7 separate regions of the Homo sapiens genome follow, and regions 1, 3, 4, 5, 6 and 7 are each linked to region 2. The links are contacts of gene promoters, found by promoter capture Hi-C in blood cells and fetal thymus (Javierre and others, 2016). All regions are on one chromosome and are shown on one strand. Each heading gives the region's core, a stretch centred on a gene start or on the middle of the fragment in contact. The rest is flanking DNA. Distances are from core to core; before and after follow the strand shown.

Region 1 (3,146 bases), core at 224-2,723, 410 kb after region 2:
CCTCTAGAACTGAGGAAATAAAGTTATGTTCTTTATAAATTACCAAGCCTGTAGTATCCTGTTACAGCAGGACAAAATAGACTAAGATAGTCTTTCAGATCTCATTTCTTCATACATAGAGATTTTTAAGAAGTGCTTATTCCAAGGGTTTTCCTATGAGATTTTAATGAGATAATGCATGTAATGGTACTTTGTGGAGGGCCAGGAAATCAGTAAATCAGCTTTTTTCACAAGCCCACCTCTATTTAAAAACAGAACACTATTTAACTAAAATGAAATGAAGTAAGTACCTTTGCCCAAAAGTCCTTGTTAGTTTATTTGAAAAGGAGCTCTATTTCAGATTATTTTTCAGTTAGCTTTTTGAGAACTGATCAGCTTACACTAAAAGTTCAGCCATTACAGGAAACCTGGGAAATGAAGGAATTCGCATGCTAAAAATAAAAAGAGTTTCAGCCAGTGTTAACCTGAATAGGTATTATGTTATTTCACTTGGGTCTTTTCCTCCAACATGAGTTCAAACAAAAATAACCAAATATGTTTAAAAGCTCTTGCTGCCCAGTGACCCTGCTCTGCGAAGGCCCCATGGTTCTGGTGCTGCAGTATGGGAGGCAGAGGCATTTGCCCTGCAGGACCCTTCCTATACCTCTCCTGACTAATCAGTTATTACCTAGGGTCAGCATCGGGTAAGAGTGGGGAGGAAACAGACAGGGGACGTCTGAAGGAATTCTTCAGTAGCTGAGTTGGGTGGGTTTTCCCCCTGTTTAACAAAGGTGAAGAATGGCAGTACCCTGAGTTATGTAGGGCTTCAAGACTCCACTTCATATATGGAGATTTTCCTCTCCTCCCAGGAAAGATCCCTCCCCTTAAGAAAAAGACTGTGCTCCCCAGGAGAGCAGAAGCCCAGGCCTGTCCTCAATGAAGCAGCCTGGGATAGTGGCCTCCGGCCCACAAACCCCATCAGGGACTTGAGCAATAGTTGTGTGAGCAAAATAAACTGTGAAATTAAAGTTACCTGTTTCTGGCAGAAACCTGACTTATGGGGGATCTTTATAGATCTGGGAATAGTAAGAGAGAGTGGTGAAAAATCAATAGCACCCAGAGTGATAATCCACACTGATTTAATTTACTCAAAAAGTATTTCACTCATCTCTTTCTGCCCATGTAAACCCATGCCTAATCTCTAAGTGGTCTGGTATTTATGATAAAAGACACAAGAATACTCATCTAATTGAAGAAGAGCTCTTTGAAACTGGCCTGCTTATTCTGGTGTGAGATACCGCTCAGAAAATATAGGAAGATAGAGTGAACGAGCAAACAGATCTCCAGCTGGCTGTCAGCCAACATGTTGCCTATTCCCTAGCATGTGTATGTAATCTATTAGCCTGTAAATTCCTCAAGTACATGGGCCATGACTTCCATTTCCTTTGTACCCCTCCCCTGCACATAGTACAATAGCCTGCATGAAATTCATAGTCAGTAAACATTGTCAGTTGTTCAATGTTTAAACCTGTTTTTACAAGCCACGTCTCCCTCAAAAAAACCAAAACCATATATATTATTTTAATACATAAGATCAGATATACCACATTTATTTGGTTAATTCTCTCCTGCTACCAGCACACTTTTTAACAGATTTTTACAGTGTAGATAGAGCGCTCCACCTTCGCCAAGTACGGGCAGACATTAAGGTCTCCATCACTACAGGACCTGTCACCTAGAGTGAGCCTATGGCTCCCCTCTCTAGAATCTCCCCTTCAACAAGTCTCAAAGGCTTTCCCGCAACAATTATGTGTGAGTAGGCAGTGATTAAAATCCCTTCCGTTTATGTTCCAGCCATGGAGGACCCACTGCTTTGCTTTCTTTTGCTACATCTCCTATCAGTCTCTGCTGCAGTTATCAACTGCGTTGTATGGAGACATTATGTAGGGAAAAGCGTTTACGTCTGTATATGTACATGTGTGCACATACATGCACACACATACACGCACAATATATGATATTTGCCTGCCCAGGCGCAGTGGCTTACACCTGTAATTCCAGCACTTTGGGAGGCCAAGGTGGGCAGATTGCTTGAGTCCAGGAGTTTGAGACCAGCCCGGGCAACATGGCAAAACCCTGTCTCATTTCTTAAAAATTTTTCAATTAAAAAAAATGTATATATAGATATATCTCCACCAAAAATCAGCTGCAATTGACCAGGAAGAAAAATTCAGAAATATGTGAAGATAGATATTATTTGCAGAGAATCAGAACATTCATTTATTATACAGTCTATCATTGTCATTTTAAGTAAAAATATTACTTGTGTCTTTTAGGGGTTTTCTATTTTTTCACAGCTTCACTGCAACTCTCAGCCTTCTTTGTACCATCGTGTGACTATGTCTGGCCAATGGAATGTGGGTTAAATGAGACACACAGTTTTTAGCACTGGCTGGCAAAGCTCCCTGTGTGATCCTCCACTCCTTCTCTCTGCTCCTGTCACCTGTGCTTCTCCTGTCATTTCACAGGAGCCCAGGGAGGATGTGGAGGCCCTAGACCACTGGCTCTCAGGGGCAATTTTGCCCCCAAGGGACACTGGCAATGTCTGGAGATATTTTGGTTGTCACAACTGGGCAGGGTGTTATTGGCAACTGGTAGGTAGAGACCAGGGATGCTGCTGACCATCTTACAGTGCAGAGGAAAGTGCCCACAACAACTATTTACCCAGCCCAAAATGTTGATAGTGTTGAGATTGAGAAACCTGGCTGTAGACAATGGCCGACATTGCAGGTGGAGAGAGGCTGGATCTCTGAGTGACTCTGTGGAGCAAGCACTGCCCATCCCTCCATCCTGCATATCCACTTAATTGTCTCCACCCTCCTTTATCATCTCCAAGTCTAGATGCAAACTGTGAGAAATAAACCACTGCATTAAAACCCTGAGATTTTAGAGTTATTTGTTAAGACAAGTGCCTTACTCTAATAGACTACAAAACACAAGCCATATAAAGCAAAACTTAGAGACATGCCTTGTAATAGATCACAGGAAAATATGAGGAAAATGTTTTGTTTTGTTTTACTTGCTTTTGATGCTATATCATAATAGTAACTGAAGTCCTGGTGCTTTCCATTAAGGAAGGAATCTTCCAGGCCCCCTTGCTGGGCAAC
Region 2 (3,143 bases), core at 293-2,792:
ATTTTCCTCTCTCCTGCAAGTACAGTTCCATTAGCATAAGGATTCCTTTGAATTATTTTCTCTGTTTGACATTTAAATTAGTGACTGTTGGAAGAAATAAGAATAATCATTGAAATTAGCTTAGGAAATCTGTGAGTGCCCCACCTCACCCTCCAAACACACATACACTCTTGTTTTCTCATTCCAAGATTAAGAAGTTATGCAACCTGACAATGCACTTTTCTCTGACAAGTCTTGACATCACCACTGTTATTTTCTTTTTCACTTTTTTCCTCCAGCACCTGTTAGAAACAAGAGTAGGGTGATCTTCATGTGAATTTGTTCTTTCCTTATTCTTTTAGCAAAAGATAGGGATAAAAGTCTGCAATGGACAGAGATGCTTTAAAATATGCTTGAAATTTTATATTTAAAATAAACCACCTGAAAGTATTTTTAGATTGAAGACCATACACAAAATAAAGGTGTTTTTGCAGTTACTAGACTGGGTTCTTAAAACTTTAATCAATCTATATTCATAATAATATCCTTCAATTTCTTTTTTAGCATTATACAGGAAACTGGTAGATACTGAGATGGATTTTAATGGCTTTATACTGATGAAAATAGCACCACATAAAAGCAGGGGAATATTAGAAATAAAAATAATTGTCTCTAAAGACCCATACAACCCTTTTTCCCATAAAAAAAAAGATGCACTGTAATACATGAAAAGATAAGATCTCTTGTCAAAAGTGTGAGAGAATGTCCGGTGGTTCCAAATGACAGTTACCTCTTGCCCCCCTTCTCTGCCAGAGTTCCTTTTTATCTTTGCAATCTTCCAGTTCTTCCGATCAGCCTGCCTTTAGAGGGCTACAAAGCATTTCTTTCAAGCCACCATAGCTAACACGGTGACATGAGTACTTAATTTGCACGCGGCCGCGCTGCCCCTGGCTTCGCGGAAGCCCTGAGTAGCGCAGCGCCCTCGCCGCACGCAAGGCTGCAGTCCCGCTCCAGGCCAGAGTCCCAGGAGAGCGTCCTCCGCGCTCACAGGCGCCTTTGTCTTCCCGCTTCCCCCTTCCTTTTTCAAAAGCCAAGAGGTAATTATTTGGTCTTTGTGCAAGGCAAACCTCTCCAGATGCCACTTCCAAATATAGGCTCTCATTAACACCAGAGGCTGGCCTGGTGTGGTGCAGGGCGGCCCTTCCTTCTCCTGGCGGACACTGTGTCCCCGCGCGCTGGCGCTGCACCACATCTGGAAGCCAGGCGGGCAGGGCAGAGACCCCGGCTCCTGCGCCCCTCCTAGCTCCCAGAGAGCGTGGATCGCGGGCGGGGCTCACCGAGCGAGGTTACCTCTCTTGAAAATACTTAAACACTTTTTTTCCTCTCCACTGAAATCTCAAAAAACAGCCCATTTTGAACCAGAATAATTTAGTCTGACAACAGATTCTTCCTCTGTTCACAGCTGTCCCAGAGGGAGGAGCTGAAATCTGAACCTCTCAGCTGTGATTGGATCTTTCTTGCAAAAGAGAGGAAAAAAAAACCCTCCCAGCCAAAACGGGCTCAGTTCGTAAAGGAGCCGGGTGACTTCAGAGGCGCCGGCCCGTCCGTCTGCCGCACCTGAGCACGGCCCCTGCCCGAGCCTGGCCCGCCGCGATGCTGTAGGGACCGCCGTGTCCTCCCGCCGGACCGTTATCCGCGCCGGGCGCCCGCCAGACCCGCTGGCAAGATGCCGCGCTCCTTCCTGGTCAAGAAGCATTTCAACGCCTCCAAAAAGCCAAACTACAGCGAACTGGACACACATACAGGTAAAAAGAGAAAAATATATCTAGAACTACGTATCTAGAGCTTTGCAAATATGAATCTACGTATTACCCTTCAAATACCATTACAAAAGAGCCAAAGATTCAACTGTTTTCCTTTTTAACAGTGTCCTGAAAGGGAGCTTACATTCTTTTGATCATTTAGGGTTCGTTTTAATTCAAAACTTTTAAAATTCTTGACTAACAAGGAACATTTCATTCAAATCTCGCAGCTTCGTTTGCTAAAGCCTGTGTATACATGCATAATGAGTATGTGAAAGATGAGCAACATAAGGATTGAATTACTGCGTTTTTCATGCACTAAGTCTCCTTTCCTTTAGAAGGCGGCTTGATGCAGGCATATCTTTGTACTCACGGTCGTAATACACCTAAATAGCCCATACGTAACATGGAAAACAACTTTTCTGTATGTTTAAAAATAATGTTGAGGCTCTCCTTCCTCAATGGGGACGGCGAAGGCACTGGCTTGGCTGCACTGTCTGACTTCAGAGCACCTATAGCTCCGTGCAGCTGTCAGCCTATGTGTGCATTAAGTACAGTAACTCCGTAGGTGCCAGGGTGGAAATGAAACATTTTACCAGTGTGTATGCCCTCCTAAATGGGTCTATCTTCTTCCTAAGAAAATCACGTGTGTGTTGCTAAATATCTTTCCAGTGTGTGTATACTTGCGTGTGGATTTATTTTTAATTATTTTTGCCTTAATCTTCTCTCCCTCCCTTTTCTTTCCCAGTGATTATTTCCCCGTATCTCTATGAGAGTTACTCCATGCCTGTCATACCACAACCAGAGATCCTCAGCTCAGGAGCATACAGCCCCATCACTGTGTGGACTACCGCTGCTCCATTCCACGCCCAGCTACCCAATGGCCTCTCTCCTCTTTCCGGATACTCCTCATCTTTGGGGCGAGTGAGTCCCCCTCCTCCATCTGACACCTCCTCCAAGGACCACAGTGGCTCAGAAAGCCCCATTAGTGATGAAGAGGAAAGACTACAGTCCAAGCTTTCAGACCCCCATGCCATTGAAGCTGAAAAGTTTCAGTGCAATTTATGCAATAAGACCTATTCAACTTTTTCTGGGCTGGCCAAACATAAGCAGCTGCACTGCGATGCCCAGTCTAGAAAATCTTTCAGCTGTAAATACTGTGACAAGGAATATGTGAGCCTGGGCGCCCTGAAGATGCATATTCGGACCCACACATTACCTTGTGTTTGCAAGATCTGCGGCAAGGCGTTTTCCAGACCCTGGTTGCTTCAAGGACACATTAGAACTCACACGGGTAAGAGAAAAACCATAGGCAGGAATGTTACTCTGAGATACAATGAAGCCCTGGGCTGGCTGTTGGAT
Region 3 (3,444 bases), core at 678-3,177, 450 kb after region 2:
CTCCATGGATGGCCGGGACACCTGACCTGGCCTGGGGATTCTGTCGGCCCACACTGCCCACAGCCGCCGTGCCCAGCACTGTCCTCATGCCCCTCTGCGGCGACACGCAGCACTCAGTCCCACGGGCCCCTTGCTCACGCTCTCCCTTCTGCCTGGACGGTGCTCTCTCTGCCCTTTTCCACCTGATTGACGTCTACTTTTCCCGTACATTTCAGCTGAGATAAACCAGACCCTGAAGAGGCCTTGGTGACTTGCTAGGCAGGCCGGCACTGGTGGGCGCGTTGGCTCCACGCACCTGACCCTGGGCTATGCCACACGCCCACTAGTCCCAGGGACTGGGGACAGACAGTGTTTCTTATTCACTAGGAGGCACAGTGCCCGGCACACAACAGGAAGTCACAAGCAAATGAGCAAATGATTGCAGCATGAATAAATGAAGGTAATTGATTTCTTCCTGAGAACATACTTGGGTCTGGGCCCCACAGGAAGTGCTAGAAAAGCTTTCATCTGATGCTGGGTTATTTATGCCCAAAAAGGTTTTCTTGAGGGATCATGGAAAGACACAAGGTCATTGGATAAATACAGTACTACTTCCTAGAGGACCTGATCTACTGAATAATTAGCCGACATGACAGAAAACAATAGTATCACTGCAAAGAGGCCTTTATAAGATTTGACACAAAGGCCTCCAAGACGTATTTGACTTTGCACCTGGCTACCCAATTCACTTTGCTGCACATCCCCCAAGGGGGGCAGTCCGTCTGTCTACTGGGCTCCTTCTCTGGGAAAGTCTGGGAAACATTTCCAGGGGGAGAAGCTCTCATGCTGTCCCCCCTGAATACCTCACAGCAGCCCTTATGGTCAGCCTTTGAAGTGATGGTTTTTGATTCCTTACTTTTCCAAGTCAAAATCAGCACAGCCCTCAATGACTGGGGCTAGGAGCAGAGGTAGAGGAAGTTGGGAGGCGTTGGAGTAGGAGATTCAGGGAAGACAAGTTTACCATTTGAAATCATGTTGTGTATTGAGAAGGGCATGGACCTTAGAGACAGAACTTCCGGCTCTGCAACGGACACATGCAACCTTAGGTAAGGTAAGTCTCAGGTAAGTAAATTAAATCTGCATGGAAAACCCCATTTAGGGCTTGGCTTACAACTGAGCAGCAGGCAGTGAGAGCTGGTAAGGATTCTGTTCTCATGACAGTCATTTGGAAGGTTGGTGCCTTTACCTTGCACACTGGGGATTCAACTCAGTCCTGACCCACCACCTCAAGAAAACAATTTTCTTTCATTTCCTTAACACCTGATATGGTTTGACTGTGTCCCCACCCAAATCTCACCTTGAATTGTAGTTCCCATAATCCCCATGTATCATGGGAGGGACTAGGTGGAGATAATTGAATCATGGGGGCAGTTTCCCCCATCCTGTTCTCCCGATAGTGAGTTAGTTCTCATGAGATCTGATGGTTTTATAAGGGGCTTCCGCCTTCACTGGGCACTCATTCTCCTTCCTGCCACCAATGTGAAGAAGGATGTGTTTGCTTCCCCTTCTGCCATGATTGTAAGTTTCCTGAGGCCTGCCCATTCATGCTGAACTGTGAGTCAATTAAACCTCTTTCCTTTATAAATTACCCAGTCTTGAGTATGTCTTTATTACCAGCATTAGAACGGACTAATACCCAAATCTCTATTTCCTTTCTTGCATATTTAAGAGATGCTAGAAGTTAACTTCAAGTAGTTTGAAGCCTCTTCAGTTGCTTTGAGGCTGGACCCAGTGGGGGCCCTTCCACTCTCTGGCCTTGTGCACAGTCAGACTCTGCTCCCAGGAGCCAGAAGGAGCCAAGAGTCAGCTGGGCAGGTGGTATGGCTGGGGTGTGCCCAGGAGTTTGTGAGCAGGGGCCAGGCTGGGGCAGGGTGCCGCAATTCTGAAATGCTGCCCTGATCCAGTTTTGAGGCCCTGGCTAGAAGTCAGTCAGTTCCCCTTCTTGAGCAGATTCACTCCACATCCCCAGAGGCTGCCTTTGTTGGGCTCTCCCACTCTGGGCCACTGTCCACCTGCCCTCATCACCCCAGGACAGATACCAGACAGCCCAGCACAGCCCCACTGCTCCGGAGCCCTGACATTGTTCAATCCCACCAATCCGCAGCCTGCTTGCCTGGCCTCACCTGCTCCTTCATGCAGAAACTGCAACAAGGGAGCTTGCCCTGAGCTCACTCCCCTCATTCAGGGCCTCCTGACCCTATCCGAGCCTCCCCAAGGAGCCATGAGAATAACAAACTGTAAAATTCTTTCTGGTGTCATTCCTGACCTGCATCTGGCCTCACCACACTTCACCCAAGGTAATGTGCTTGTAACAGGCACAGCCCAGGCAATCAGACTGGCCTTGGGCATTCATTGGCACCAAGAGCATGTCCCCTCTTTGGCATTCCCTCACCCCCGCCCCCCAGCCACCAGGCCAGAGCCATGGGAAGGTCACCTCTTGGATGTTAGCCACCCTATTACTTTCTAGATAAAGAAACAATCTCGCTGCTTCCTCTGCTCTAATGTGACAGTTGCTGTCTGCCTCACCCAATGGGAAACAGTCATGAGCAGTGTAAGATGAGACATAACCAGGCCCACACATGTCTTTCCACAGGTCAGAATTTACAGAGGCTATTTTAATCATAAAAGCTACAAACTACCTGGAGTTCTCAAGGAGGCAATTCTTAGTATCACCTATGGAAACACAGGCTCAAGCCACTCCACAAGTCAGTCAATATTGCAAACCATACATAGTAGTATATTTAATCAATATATAAATGTTATAGATTAAACATTTCACATCAAACAAAGTAACGTTCAACATCAAGAGAAAAGGAGGTCAGAAAAGGAACTAATGAAGCAGTCCAAGGAGAGTGACGAGGAGAAGGGGAGTGTCCTGGGCTGATCCCAACGGACGCCAGTGTCTTGCAAGGAAGAGGCTTTGATGTGGGCAGAGGCTTCATCAGCAGATGCCAGGTGCTCATCACAAGTGACAGCAGGACAGGGTCTGCCAACACAGCAGTGTCTACCTGATGAAGTCTCACTCATTTTATGGCCACAGAGTCCTCTGGTGAAGACTGATAGTAAAGGGTCATGTCTTATCTGGTTAAGTGCGCATCTGCCCAGAGGGTCTTGTTAGCTAGTGAAGTTCTGCTCATTTTATGGCCCTTGAGTCATCTGGCAAGGACTGATAGTAAGCGTGTGCCTGTTCATGCCCTTGTCTAGTTAGGTGCAGTCTCTGTTGATTAGGGGAACATCTTTTCTCTATTGGCACGACGCCTTTTGAGATGTAAGATGGAGTAGTTTTCCAAGATAGAGTTACTTATGTCAAGCTTGCTGTTTACAGAAAGGCAGAGGTGTCCTTTCATTGTTCCCCACAGTCATCTAAATGCGGAGGTCTTCCTCCCTGAGGCAAACTCCCCGGAG
Region 4 (3,474 bases), core at 149-2,648, 390 kb after region 2:
GTCACAGAAAGTCAACTCCCCGGTTGTAGAATGCAGCCACACAAAGATACATGAACAAGTGGGCATGGCTATATTTCAGCAAAACTTCACAAAACAAGTGGAACTTGTTTTTGCTTTGTTTCATTTTGTTGTTTTTTATGGTTTGTGCAAACTTCAAATCGTTTTAACATTTTTAAGTGGTTATAAAAGTTCCTGCATAGTAGCCTCGATTTTGAGTTGTTTTGTGACCTGAAAAGCCTATAATATGTATTATCTGACCATTAAAAAAAAAAGATTTCCATCCCTGCTCTAGAGAAATGGAAACTTATGTTCACCAAAAATTTTGTAAATGGATATTCATAGCAGCTCTAGTAATAATCATGAAAAACAGAAAACAATATAAATGTCCTTTAACCAATGAATAAACAAACTATGACACATCTATACAATGAAATACTAGTCAGCAGCAACAAGGAACAAACCACTGATATCCTCAATCACATGGGTGAATCAGAAGATGCCAATATCCAAAGTTAATTCCTCCATTTTATGATATTTCAAACCATGTCTGTATGCTGCTAGGCAAATAATATTTATTGTAAGTTTCAATCTATCAAGTACAATATCTCATTATTTTAAAGATGCTCTGAATCCAGTGTGGGGACAGATTTGTATAGTCTCTAATTGTAAGACTGGAACTCAAAATGAACTAGGCTCAGAATCAACTCTGGCATCCCTGAATTTTGTTACCTTATACAATTAATTTATTTGAATCTCTGTTTCCTAAAATGAAAATAATAATAGCTTGAAGAAGAAGAAGGAGGAGGAGGAAGAGGAGGAGAAGCCACCGCCAATATCAAGAGGTTTCTACCTGTATGACCCTATTTACATGACTGAGCAGACTGATGGCTTTGGGGTGGCATGGGGGAGGGTGTGATCGCCCCAGGGCAGCTCAGGGCCTCCAGGTGCTGCAGCTACCCTGTGTCTTGCCTGTAATGAGACAAATCTACACGTGTGTTAAGGCTCATGGGTGGTGCACACATGCAGAAGAACTTGGCTCTACTGGATGTTAACTTAAAATTCAAAATTCAAGATGTGTTTGTAACACTGTCGGCGTGTACCTCTTCAATATTCATGCATTCCAATGCCTGCCTTTGTTAAAAGCCACAGAATGCAGCAGGAAGGGAGACAGGCTGACAGACACCATTAAGAACCTTGAAGAGCTTCTGCAAAGAAAGAACCATGATGTCAAAGACGAGCTTGCATGAAGGAGTAAGACATGGGGGAAAACAGTCAGACTTTAGTATTTTTTGCCCTGCTGCTAGGAAGCACCTCGCTGAAAAGTTATCATGTATGGCAGTGACGATGCTAAAAGTTCAACAAGGCACCAAGGAATGACAACTCAGACAGGTGAAGTCACTTGTTTTTTATGAATTCTAGAAAAGGGGACTTTTAAGTGTCACCACTCAGCATCTACTTGAGTCCTGTCAACAGCAGGCATTGCACTTTAGGTGCCTGTACTCCTTAGAGACGTAGAGGAAGAACAAAGACAAAACATTAACATTTACAATTCCACAGTCAAGCAGATGATAAACTGAATGCCTGCGAGGGAGGACCCCACCAAGAGCAAGCCATGGGAACATCTTAAACACAGCCTGGTGGACAGCAGTGGGTGGCTCACAGAGCTGGGTTCAACTAGAGCCTAGAGAGGTTAAACAGAAGAGCATCTGGAGAAGCAGAGTCCTGCAAAGTGTTTGAAAATGAACGAGGACAGAGACTAGTTAGTGACTGTCAGAAGGGGCCAGGAGGTGAATGGGGAAACTGGGCTTTCCAAAGTGTCACAGAACACAGCTCTGAAGGTGCAGAGGCAGAGAATGAGCACGCCATAGGAGGGGCACAGGCAGTGAGTCTGGGCCTGTGTGGGACGAGCAAAGAGAGAACAAAAGCACAAGTGGCCATGCCAAGCACATGAGGAACAGTGTCCCCAGCTCACACAGCTCACCCTGTGATCAGACAGAGATCACCACCCTCTGAACTTGCAACCCCAGGGTGAGTGGACAGTGACATCCACTCGCTCTGTGTACAATGACTGTACTATACCTGTACTAACTGGAGTTCTCCAGAGAAGGATAACCAATAGGAGGTATATATGCATAGAGGGAGAGAGAGCAATTTATTTTAAAGATTGACCCATGCAATTATGGAAGCTGGCAAGTCCAAAATCTACAGGGTGGGCTGGCAAGCTGGAGACCCCAAGAAGGCTGATGTTGCAGCTGAAGCCTAATGGCCATTAGATTGGAGAACTAGGAAAAGGCTTATGTTGCAGTCCCATTCTGAAGGCTGTAAGTTCCTTTAGGGAAGGCTGGAAGAAAGATGGAGTGTAAGTTTTTGGCTGCATACCAGGGTCCTTGTTCAAGGAGACCCAACCTCCCCTTCATTCAATGGGTTTGAGTCTGTAAACTGGCTCAAGTCTGGGAATTGATTGAGGGGGCATGACTCTCTTTTCATGGTTCAAGTTAGACTTTAGTTTGCTTGATCCAGAATTTAACTGCTTATACAGCTCGAGTAAGAATTTAGTAGGTTTCCTGTGTGTTTCACTGCTGAGAATACCATGATCCACCAGCCGATGCCCCGGGCTGGCATGAGTCAGGCTCTTCTGATTGCAGCTTGGATTCTGCCATCCTTTACAGGGTCCACATCCATGCAGTGATGCTACTTGGCCCCTGCCACTTAAGGATTTAATACTCCCACTGTGTGGATGTTTCCCCACTGTAGGGTGTGGCCCACAGAGAAGAGCAGTCACAGCTCATCAAGGGTTCTGGGGCTCCCCTCTCACATGCATTTCCCATAATCGTGGGAAAAGGTGTGAGTTCTGGGCCCTCCCAGGGTGAGTGAGGATGTCTGGAAAGACGAATCCTCTCTTGCATTCCAACCTCCCCAAGGCTTTGAATCCCTTCCTCTGCATTAAGCCATGACAGGGTTATCATCTCTAACTCATTCACTGTGGGCTTTTGGTCTGTTTCTGCCAAACAGCCCAAGAGTTAGAGCCCCTTTCAACTCCCCAAGCCGCTGCAAAAATTAGTTCAGAATCTCTGCTTAGTGGGCCCGTATCAATGCATTTGGCCTGATCCAACTCAGTGTTCTTTCCACCATTATCTCACACCCTTCATATCCTTAATATCCACACAAGACCACATTCTTCCCTTCTTAGGAGAAAAAGTTCACTGACTGTGATCACAATGGGATCAACTTTTAAGGGATCCCATTTCTTAAATTTGGTAGACTACAGTCAGGGAAGGAAGGAACAGGATGGGGAATGTTCAAATGTGTTCACACTGAGAGCAGAATCATAGACATTGGAGGCTGGGAAAGGTGGAAGGTTTTGAGGGATGGGTACCAAGTTCCCTGTTCAGGGGATGGTTAAACAAAAAGCCCAGACTTCACTAGGCAATATATCCATGTAACAAATCTGCACTTGTACCTGCTACATCTATA
Region 5 (3,313 bases), core at 68-2,567, 470 kb after region 2:
GGGGTCCTGTGGGACTGTCCATTTCTCTCTTAGATCACAAAACGGTAGAAGAGGATGAGGATATCTTATTTATTTATAATATATTTAGGGGTACAAGTGCAGGTTTCTTACATACATTCATTGCAAAGTGGTGAAGTCTGGGCCTTCAATGGAACCATCACCCAGATAGTGTACATTGTACCCAGTAGGTGGTATTTCATCCCTCACCCATCCTTCCACTCTCCAACCCTTCTGAGTCTCCAAGGTCTATTCTTCCACTTTGTAGGTTCATGGGTATGCATTTCTAGGTCACATTTGTGAGAACATGCAATATTTGACTTTATTCTTCTGAGTTATTTCACTGAGGATAATGGCCTCTAGTTCCATCCGTGTTACTGCAAAAGACATGGTTTCATTCTTTTTTATGGCTGCATAGTATTCCATGGTGTGTGTGTGTGTGTGTGTGTGTGTGTGTGTGTGTGTGTGTGTATGTGTATGTATATGTATATCTCACATTTTTTTTTGGATCCTGTCTCCTGTTGATGGTGTTGGTGGACATTTAGGTTGATTCCAGATCTTCGCTATTGTAAATAGTGCTGCAATAAACATACAAGCTCAGGTGTCTTATGTAATGACTTACTTTGAGGGTAGAGGAGGATTTCTTGACCTTCAATTGTTGTATTTCAGGACAAGGTAAAGTTCAACCTTGTCATTCTCCCCTCTTATTCAAGAGGAATGAAGATCATCATTGGTGAACAATATTCACCAAGGTTAATCATCATCTTCCTGAGTGAGGTGAAGTGGGTCTGAGAAACACTCTACCAGGACTTTTGCTGGTGGTATTCCTGTGAATCGGTTCAACCACCTGTTGAGAGGGGGTGGCACAGTCCAGAGTGTTAATACATTGAAGGCCAGTCTTATTGAAAGAGAAATGCCTAAAATGATGAAGAGAAATGTGAGTGTAAATGTCACATTAAAGGGAAGAGTGAGTGTTGATCCCTGGGAATGATGAATCTCACTGAGCCCTCACTGATGAAACTTCTCCCCTACTGCAACAGCCTAAATAAATCATCTCCTTAATTGTCCAGCATATTCTGTCTTTCACAACAAGATTGAGAGTCTTAAATTTACATAATGTAACAAAAATATTAGAAATAACGTCACGAAGTGTTCCATCTTAAACCTTCTATGTAGTATTTTTTTAAACCTTGTGTGGTATTTTAATGAAAATATCTGTAATCTTCTGATAAAAATACTACACAAGATGGTGAAAGATTTGTCAACCAGTAAAGAACTCCTGTCTTGGCCTAGGAAGGTGTAACTGTGTAGACACAGTTCATAAACCTAGTAGTGGGCATTCAGCTCATTTTAGTTCAATCTAAGACCTTTTATCAGAGCTGTATTTTATTATTGCACAGGCACCTACCCCCCCCACCCCGCCCCACCTCCCACACACACACAAGGCCTAGAGGACTTTACACAAATGAGGCAATCCAGTATCGTGGTTTGATTGCTGTAATGATGGACAGATAACATTTCTTGATGAGCTGTCTCCCAGATTCTCCCAGCGTAACCAGGGTTTAGTCGCTTGTGGTTTGGACACACAGTCTCTGGAAGCCCATCTCCTCATTTTTAGTCAGATCCAAAATGTAAAGGGTCCAGCCCATCCTCATCCCCTGGGTGTGCCCTTGAAATGCGACTGGTGTGAACCGGGACGTGCTCTGTGTGTGAAATGCACACCAGATTTCAAAGACTTAGTATGAAAAGAAAAATGCAAAGTATCTCCTTAATAATTTCACATGGTTAATATTGATAGGTTAATATTCTGGATATGTTGGGATAACAATAATATCCCATTAAAATTAAAATTAATTTCACTTGCTCCTTTCTTCCTTTTTAAAAATGCAGCTACCAAAAAATTTAATGTTAAATCTGAAGCTCACATTCTATTTCCGTCAGACAGCACTGAGTCTAAACTCAATTTCTGTGAGTACTAATAAATGCAGAGTGACCTTCATGGGGCCTGCTTCACAAAGGTCACACACCCTAAGGCATCTGTTCTCTCGCCTCTTGTCACATGGAGTCCCCCGAAGTCAGCCTCTCAAGTAGCAGGGCCCCTGAGCACCAATTTCAAAAATGGACTGGGTAGGAATTCCCCACCCCAGGCAATCCCCCAGCCCCCACCTGCTGACAGAGATGTCAGCCAAGTGTCAGAACTGTGACCAGGACACAGATTCCTGCACTCCCACAGCTCCTCAGGCCCATAACAGGCTGGCTCCAGGACCGTAGGGGCCCATAGCTCAGGCAGCCCCCACATCCCTAGGCTGCCAGGTCTTGGTTTCACACCTTCCCCCTCATCCAGACACAGTCCTCTTTCCTCTCTTCCCTTGGAAAGTCTCCTAATTTTGAGCCACTAGCCGTTCATCTGAGGCACCCTGGGGGGCTCCTGCTGCCCGTGTTGAATTGTACCTGCATTCCACATAAATGACTGCAGCTGGCTCTGGCCAGACTTCCCTAGAAGAGGAGAGCAGGAAGGCCTTGCTGGGGAGCATTCGGGGTCCCTGGGGCCAGCAGGGCATTCAGCAGCAGTTGTGTAGGGTGACGGCGCACCTGCCAGGCACCCTGGGAGCAAGCTGCCCTTCACCTGATGCCCTCTCCCTGCAGGAGCTACAGCACCTGTTACACAAGAGTGCAGGTTCCCCTTCTGTATGTGAAAAGGGAAATCTAGTCTTCTCTTAGGGGTTGGCTTCTTCCCAGGTGTCTTCTCCAGATAGATCATTCAAGCATCTGTTCCTACCAGGGCCAGAAGAAGACACCCTAGAGGAGTACTTCAGATTCCCAATGGGAGGGCAACCCCTGACTTAAACACCTGAGAATGTCTCTAGGACACAGGGTGAATGTGCTCTGCAAGATAATGAATGAGAACAAAGAATTAAGACAAATACAGAATAGCAACTTTATCTTATTCAAAAGATAGATACTATTTTCATTGCTACAGATCTTAATGGGTCCAGCAACCATCCATTAAACAATCTGTTAAGACTTAAGGCAGAACTGTCATTAATCTGAGTTTTCTAATGAAATTGTTTGTACAGAGCATAAATACCAATCTTCAAATTACAATACGGAGCATAAAAGGGGGCCTGAGGATTTCCGCAAGGCAGAGCTGACCGCTGAGCTCTGGGGTGCTGGGATAGAGACCCCCAACACCCAAGCCTGCCTTAATTTCCAGACGCAGCTTCCTTCTTAATAGTCTATTCCTAACATTCTTGCCTTCTCTAGATTTCTGAGGTTTTAAAATGCTGCAAATACTCATTTTCCTGTTGAAATCTTT
Region 6 (3,296 bases), core at 760-3,259, 360 kb after region 2:
CAGCAAGGACGGCCACTAGTCATGGTCTCCACCCCCGACCCAGCACCAGCAGGTCCTCAGATGGCTCATCCTCCAGATGGAGCAGAGCTGTTCCAGTAGCACCAGGGGAACCACTGGCAGGGGCCCATCAGAGCCCCACCAGAAATCAGTGGCTGGAGGGGAGGTCTCCTTACCACTGGGCCTGAGATGCCCTTTTCCTGCTGAGACACACAGGAGTGGGAGGCGGAACCATAAAGGGGCCTGCCACTGCAAGCAGCTGCTCAGAGAAACTCTGTTGTCCATGGCCTGGGGCTCTCCTGCCCTGACCAGAGGTGCCTGGGCTGCCCAGGACACAGGCACATGGGTCCCACCACATCCTTCTTCCACCAAGAGCCTCCTGGCAGCTGGCCCAGTGAAGCCTTTCCCAATCCACAGGCCACACCAGCAGGGACCAGTGGGAGCCCCCAGGGAACCAGAAAAACCAAGCAGACCAAACAACACAGCAAAGACTCCGAAAATTAAGCTGCCATCAGAACCACAGTCCACAAAAACAGTCCAAAACTTGTGGGCTGAACCTAAATTGGGTGACTTGCTGCTAAAATATAAGATTTGGGCCGGGCATGGTGGCTCACGCTTGTAATCCCAGCACTTTGAGAGGCCAAGGCAGGTGGATCTCCAGAGGTCACGAGTTCGAGACCAGCCTGGCCAACATGGTGAAACCCCATGTCTGCTGGAAATACAAAAATTAGCCAGGTGTGGTGGTGCACGCCTGTAATCCCAGTTACTCAGGAGGCTGAGGCATGTGAATTGCTTGAATATGGGAGGCAGAGGTTGCAGTGAGCCGACTGAGATTGCGCCACTGCACTCCAGCCTGGGTGACAGAGTGAGACTCTGTCTTAAAAAAGTGATAATAATAAAATAAAAAATTAAAATAAAATATGATTTAAATAGGGCTCAGAGACTTCTAACATAATAGACAAAATGTTCAGCATACAACTGAAAATCTCCTGTCATATCAAGAACTAGGAGATTCACAACTTGAATTTAAAAAGCCAATAAACTGATGTCAACAGTGATATTAATACAAATTTGGAATTATCTGACAAGAATGTAAAAGCAATAGCCATGGAAATGCTTCAACAATCAATTTAAAATGTTATTGAAACAAATGAAAAAGTAAATCTCAAGAAAGTTATAAAAAGGAACCGAATGGAGGCCGGGCGCAGTGGCTCATGCCTGTAATCCCAGTGCTTTAGGAGGCCGAGGTGGGCAGGTCACAAGGTCAGGAGTGTGAGACCAGCCTGGTCAATATGGTGAAACCCCATCTCTACTAAAAATACAAAAATTAGCCAGGAGTGGTGGTGGGTGCCTGTAATCCCAGCTACTGGGGAGGCTGAAGCAGAAGAATTGCTTGAACCTGGGAGGTGGAGGTTGCAGTGAGCCAAGATCACTCCACTGCACTCTAGCCTGGGCAACAGAGTGAGACTCCATCTCAAAAAAAAAAAATTGCCCAATGGCTCAACAGTAGAGCAGAGATGAAGAGCATTCCTTCAGTGAACATTAAGGCAGAACAATAGAATTCACTCCATATGAACAGCAGAGAGAAAGTAGATATTTTTAAAAAATTAAAACATTCTCCCTCACTGACCTCTGAGACAGAAGAGCCAACATTCAAATCGCTGGAGTCTCAAAATGAAAAGGAAGGGGGTGGGGAATTAAAGAGTGTTTAAAGAAATAATAACTAAAAACTTCACAAATCTGTCAAGAACATATCAATCTATAGATCCAAAAAGCTGAACAAACCCTAAACAATATTTTTTCAGTGCTGAGAGAAAAGAATAGTCAGCCATGGATTCTATATCCAGCTAAGCTCACCTTCAGGAGGGAAGGGGAAATGAAAACATTCTCAGATGCAGAAAACTAAATAATTTGTCATGAGCAGGTCAATCCTTAAATATTATATAAATGAAGTACTTCAAACAGAAAGAAAATGATAAAAAATTTTTGAGAATCAGGAAAGTAAAAGAAATGACAAAGAGTACACATGGGTGCATACACTAGACTACCCTTTTCCTGGTGAGTTTTATAAGTTATATTTATAATTGAATCAAAAATAATATCTTCTGATTCATAACAAAATGATGGTTAAAGGGGAAAGATAAAAAGACCTAAAGAGAAGTGAGATTTCCACACACAGCTGAAAATGGTAAAATATTGATACCAATCAACTTTTGTAAGTCATATATGTATATTGTAAAACCCAGAGCAACCATGACAAAAACTATACAAAGGGACACATTAAAACACTAAAAATAAATCAGGTTGGAATTTTAAAACAACATTCAAGTAATCCTGAGAAAAGGAAGAAACACAGAAGATCAAGCACCTGAGAAAACAAATAATAAAATACCACTTTTAAGTACTAACATACCAATAATCACCTTAAATGTGCATTGTCTAAATCAAAAGGTAGACATTATCAGAATGCATAAACATGACCCAATTATATGCTGCTTACAAAAAACTCTTACACAAGGCAGGTCAAAAGGAAAATGATGAAAACAGATAAGCTATATAAACATAAAAATTTTTGAAGACCAGTAGTAGTTATATTAATATCTCATAAAGTAGACTTCAGAGCAAAGAAAATTCCTAGAAACAAGAAAGAAGAGTCTATATGGATATAAAGATAATTCACCAGAAAGAAATATTTATCTTAATTGTGTATGCAATAAACAACATAACCTCAAAATACATGAAGTACCAACAGATGAAACTGAAAGAAGAAATATACAAATAGAAAATTATAGTTGATTGTTTTGACAGCCCCTTACCTCACCAATGGATAGTGCTACAAGACAGAAATTCATCAAAGATATACAGGACTGAACAATAAAGTCAACCAATAGGATCTAACCGACATACATAGAACAAGCTACATAACGACAATACAATACAAATATTTCTCAAGTGTACATGGTACATTTACCAAGACAGTTCATATGTTTGGGCAATAAAACAAACATCAACAAATGTGAAAGAATTAAAGTGATACAGAATATCTTTTCTGACCACAATGGAATCAAACTAGAAACCAGTAACAAAGACAACAGGAAAACCTCCAAACAAATTTCTAAATAATGTATGGGCTATAAAGGAAGCCTTAAAGGGATATTTTTTAAAAAGCATATAACAGAATGAAAACAAAAAACTTAATATATCAAAAGATGTTGGATGTAATTAAAGCAGCAATAAGAAGGAAATTTATAACACTAAATGTTTACATTAGAAATAAGAAAAGGTTTCTATTCTTTCCT
Region 7 (3,396 bases), core at 311-2,810, 430 kb after region 2:
TCTCCTTCAGTCCTACTCTGATCTTAGTTATTTCTTGCCTTCTGCTAGCTTTTGAATTGTTTGCTCTTGCTTCTCTAGCTCTTTTAATTGTGATGTTAGGGTATCGATTTTAGATCTTTTCCTGCTTTCCTGCCTCTTGTGGGCATTTAGTGCTATAAATTTTCCTCTACACAATGCCTTAAATGTGTCCCAGAGATTCTGGTACATTGGTCTTTGTTCTCATTGGTTTCAAAGAAAATCTTTATTTCTGTCTTCATTTCGGTATTTACTCAGTAGTCATTCAGGAGCAGGTTGTTCAGTTTCCATGCAGTTGTGTGTTTTTGAGTGAATTTCTTAATCCTGAATTCTAATTTGATTGCACTGTGGTCTGAGAGACAGTTTGTTGTGATTTCTGTTCTTTTACATTTGCTGAGGAGTGCTTTACTTCCAATTATGTGGTCAATTTTAGAATAAGTGTGATGTGATGCTGAGAAGAATGTATATTCTGTTGATTTGGGGTGGAGAGTTCTGTAGATGTCTATTAGGTCTGCTTGGTGCAGAGCTGAGTTCAAGTCCTGGATATCTTTGTTAACCTTCTGTCTCATTGATCTGTCTATTATTGACAGTGAGGTGTTAAAGTCTCCCATTATTATTGCATGGGAGTCTAAGTCTTTTTGTAGGTCTCTAAGGACTTGCTTTATGAATCTGGGTGCTCCTGTATTGATTGGGTGCATATATATTTAGGATAGTTAGCTCTTCTTGTTGAATTGATCCCTTCACTATTATGTAATGGCCTTCTTTGTCTCTTTTGATATTTGTTGGTTTAAAGTCTATTTTATCAGAGACTAGGATTGCAATCCTTGCTTTTTTTTTTTTTTTTTTTTTGCCTTCCATTTGCTTGGTAGATCTTCCTCCATCCCTTTATTTTGGTCCTATTTGTGTCTCTGCATGTGAGATGAGTCTCCTAAATACAACACTCTGATGGGTCTTGACTCTTAATCCAATTTGCCACTCTGTGTCTTTTAATTGGGGCACTTGGCCCATTTACATTTAAGATTAATATTGTTATGTGTAAATTTGATCCTGTCATTATGATGTTAGTTGGTTATTTTGCCCATTAATTGATGCAGTTCCTTCATAGCATTGATGGTCTTCACAATTTGGTATGTTTTTGGAGTGGCTGGTACTAGTTGTGCCTTTCCACATTTAGTCCTTCCTTCAGGAGCTCTTGTGAGGCAGGCCTGGTGGTTACAAATCTCTCAGCATTCGCTTGTCTGTAAAGGATTTTATTTCTCCTTCACTTATGAAGCTTAGTTTGTCTGGATATGAAATTCTGGGTTGAAAATTCTTTTCTTTAAGAGTGTTGAATATTGGCCCCCACTCTCTTCTGGCTTGTAGGGTTTATACCAACAGATCTGCTGTTAGTCTGATGGGATTCCCTTTGTGGGTAACTCGACATTTCTCTCTGGCTGCCCTTAATGTTTTTTTCCTTCATTTCAACCTTGGTGAATCTAACAATTATGTGTCTTGGAGTTGCTCTTCTCAAGAAGTATCTTTGTTGTATTCACTGTATTTCCTAAATTTGAATATTGGCCTGCCTTGCTAGGTTGGGGAAGTTCTGCTGGATAATATCCTGAAGAGTGTTTTCCAACTTGGTTCCATTCTCCCTGTCACTTTCTGGTACACCAATCAAATGTAGATTTGGTCTTTTCACATAGTTCCACATTTCTTGGAGGCTTTGTTCGTTTCTTTTACTCTTTTTTCTCTAAACTTCTTTTCTCACTTTATTTCATTAATTTGATATTTAATCACTGATATCCTTCCACTTAGTCGAATTGGCTATTGAAGCTTGTGCATGCATCACAAAGTTCTCATGCCATGTTTTCAGCTCCATCAGGTCATTTAAGGTCTTCTCTACACTGTTTACTCTAGTTAGCCATTCGTCTAATCTTTTTCAATTATTTTAGCTTCCTTGAGATGGGATAGAACATGCTCCTTTAGCTCAGAGAAGTTTGTTATTACCAACCTTCTGAAGCCTACTTCAGTCAACTCGTCAAAGTCATTCTCTGTCCAGCTTTGTTCCGTTGCTGGCAAGGAGCTGTGATCCTTTGGAGGGGAAGAGGCACTCTGGTTCTTAGAATTTTCAGCTTTTCTGCTCTGGTTTATCCCATCTTTGTGGTTTTATCTACCTTTGGTCTTTGATGTTGGTGACCTACAGATGGGGTTTTGGTGTGGATGTCCTTTTTGTTCATGTTGATGCTATTCCTTTCTGTTTGTTAGTTTTCCTTCTAACAATCAGGTCCCTTAGCTGCAGGCCTTTTGGAGTTTGCTGGAGGTCCACTCCAGACGCTGTTTGCCTGGGTATCACCAGCGGAGGCTGCAGAAAAGCAAATATTGCTGCCTGATCCTTCCTCTGGAAGCTTCATCCCAGAGGGGTACCCACCTGTATGAGGTGTCTGTCGGCCCCTACTGGGAGGTGTCTCCCAGTTAGGCTACATGGGGGTCAGGGACCCACTTGAGGAGGCAGTCTGTCTGTTCTCAGAGCTCAAATGCCATGCTGGGAGAACCACTGCTCTCTTCAGAGCTGTCAGACAGGGACGTTTAATTCTGCAGAAATTTCTGCTGGCTTTTGCTCAGCTATGCCCTGCCCACAGAGTTGGAGTCTATCGAGGCAATAGGCCTTGCTGAGCTGTGGTGGGCTCTGCCCAGTTCTAGCTTCTTGGCTGCTTTGTTTACCTACTCAAGCCTCAGCAATGGTGAACACCCCTTCCCCCGCCAGGCTGCAGCCTCACAGGTCAATCTCAGACTGCTGCGCTAGCAGTGAGCAAGGCTCTGTGGGCATAGGACATGCTGAGCCAGGCATGGGAGAGAATCTCCTGGTCTGCTGGTTACAGGAAAAGCACAGTATTTGGGTGGGAGTGTCCTGTTTTTCCAGTTACGGTCTGTCATGGCTTGGAAAGAGAAATCCCCCAACCCCTTGTGCTTCCTGGGTGAGGCAACACCCCACCCAGCTTCAGCTTGCCCTCCATGGGCTGCACCCACTGTCCAACCAGTCCCAGTGAGATGAAATAGATACCCCAGTTGGAAATGCAGAAATCACTCGTCTTCTGCATCGATCATGCTGGGAGCTGCAGACCAGAGCTGTTCTTATCGGCCATCTTGGAAGGGAAAACTCACACACACACACAAAATTTAAATAGTCATTATAAATATGCTCAAAGAACTATAGAAAATCATGTATACATAATTGAAATAAAGTATGAGAATGTTGTTTCACCAAATAGGAAATGTCAAGAAAGAGACAGAAATTATGAAAAAAAATAACAGAAATTCTGAAGTGGTAATGTATAATCACTAAAGTGAGAAATTCCCTAGAGGGACTCAAGAGAAGATTTAAGGTGATTAAAGAAAGAATAA

Evidence for each region. The method cuts DNA at HindIII sites, captures the fragments that hold promoters and counts their contacts. A CHiCAGO score of 5 or more calls a contact.
Region 1: a contact is called between a fragment that was not itself captured here and the fragment with the promoter of SNAI2 in region 2, in 2 of 17 cell types (M1 macrophages and M0 macrophages). The highest score is 8.3, in M1 macrophages.
Region 3: a fragment that was not itself captured here is called in contact with the fragment with the promoter of SNAI2 in region 2 in 5 of 17 cell types (M1 macrophages, M0 macrophages, endothelial precursors and 2 more); the score reaches 9.8 in M1 macrophages.
Region 4: a fragment that was not itself captured here is called in contact with the fragment with the promoter of SNAI2 in region 2 in 3 of 17 cell types (M1 macrophages, M0 macrophages and M2 macrophages); the score reaches 9.5 in M1 macrophages.
Region 5: a fragment that was not itself captured here is called in contact with the fragment with the promoter of SNAI2 in region 2 in 4 of 17 cell types (M0 macrophages, M1 macrophages, M2 macrophages and 1 more); the score reaches 11.0 in M0 macrophages.
Region 6: a fragment that was not itself captured here is called in contact with the fragment with the promoter of SNAI2 in region 2 in 4 of 17 cell types (M2 macrophages, M1 macrophages, M0 macrophages and 1 more); the score reaches 10.7 in M2 macrophages.
Region 7: a contact is called between a fragment that was not itself captured here and the fragment with the promoter of SNAI2 in region 2, in 1 of 17 cell types (M2 macrophages). The highest score is 5.2, in M2 macrophages.

The regions. Positions count from the first base shown.
Region 1 is chr8:48,508,196-48,511,341 of GRCh38, reverse strand. No RefSeq gene overlaps it. Among named protein-coding and RNA genes, the nearest start is that of LINC02947, 8.3 kb to the left of the region's middle. The HindIII fragment of the contact is 4,761 bases long and covers 1-3,146 here.
Region 2 is chr8:48,919,828-48,922,970 of GRCh38, reverse strand. SNAI2 (snail family transcriptional repressor 2) reads left to right here and starts at 1,542. Exons shown (of 3, transcript NM_003068.5): 1 at 1,542-1,784; 2 at 2,530-3,075. The coding sequence starts at 1,706. LOC107986942 (a long non-coding RNA gene) reads right to left here and starts at 1,414. Exons shown (of 4, transcript XR_001745895.3): 1 at 770-1,414; 2 at 207-281. RefSeq lists an enhancer at 1,352-1,431. The HindIII fragment of the contact is 2,868 bases long and covers 1-2,800 here.
Region 3 is chr8:48,466,464-48,469,907 of GRCh38, reverse strand. All of the region lies in intron 3 of LOC105375821 (a long non-coding RNA gene), which reads right to left. Among named protein-coding and RNA genes, the nearest start is that of LINC02947, 50 kb to the left of the region's middle. The HindIII fragment of the contact is 2,850 bases long and covers 503-3,352 here.
Region 4 is chr8:48,527,769-48,531,242 of GRCh38, reverse strand. No RefSeq gene overlaps it. Among named protein-coding and RNA genes, the nearest start is that of LINC02947, 11 kb to the right of the region's middle. RefSeq lists an enhancer at 624-1,187. The HindIII fragment of the contact is 7,462 bases long and covers 1-3,474 here.
Region 5 is chr8:48,449,782-48,453,094 of GRCh38, reverse strand. The region is part of intron 3 of LOC105375821 (a long non-coding RNA gene); the gene reads right to left. Among named protein-coding and RNA genes, the nearest start is that of LINC02947, 67 kb to the left of the region's middle. The HindIII fragment of the contact is 4,299 bases long and covers 1-3,313 here.
Region 6 is chr8:48,561,496-48,564,791 of GRCh38, reverse strand. All of the region lies in intron 2 of LOC101929268 (a long non-coding RNA gene), which reads right to left. Among named protein-coding and RNA genes, the nearest start is that of LINC02947, 45 kb to the right of the region's middle. The HindIII fragment of the contact is 6,044 bases long and covers 1-3,296 here.
Region 7 is chr8:48,485,336-48,488,731 of GRCh38, reverse strand. No RefSeq gene overlaps it. Among named protein-coding and RNA genes, the nearest start is that of LINC02947, 31 kb to the left of the region's middle. The HindIII fragment of the contact is 539 bases long and covers 1,291-1,829 here.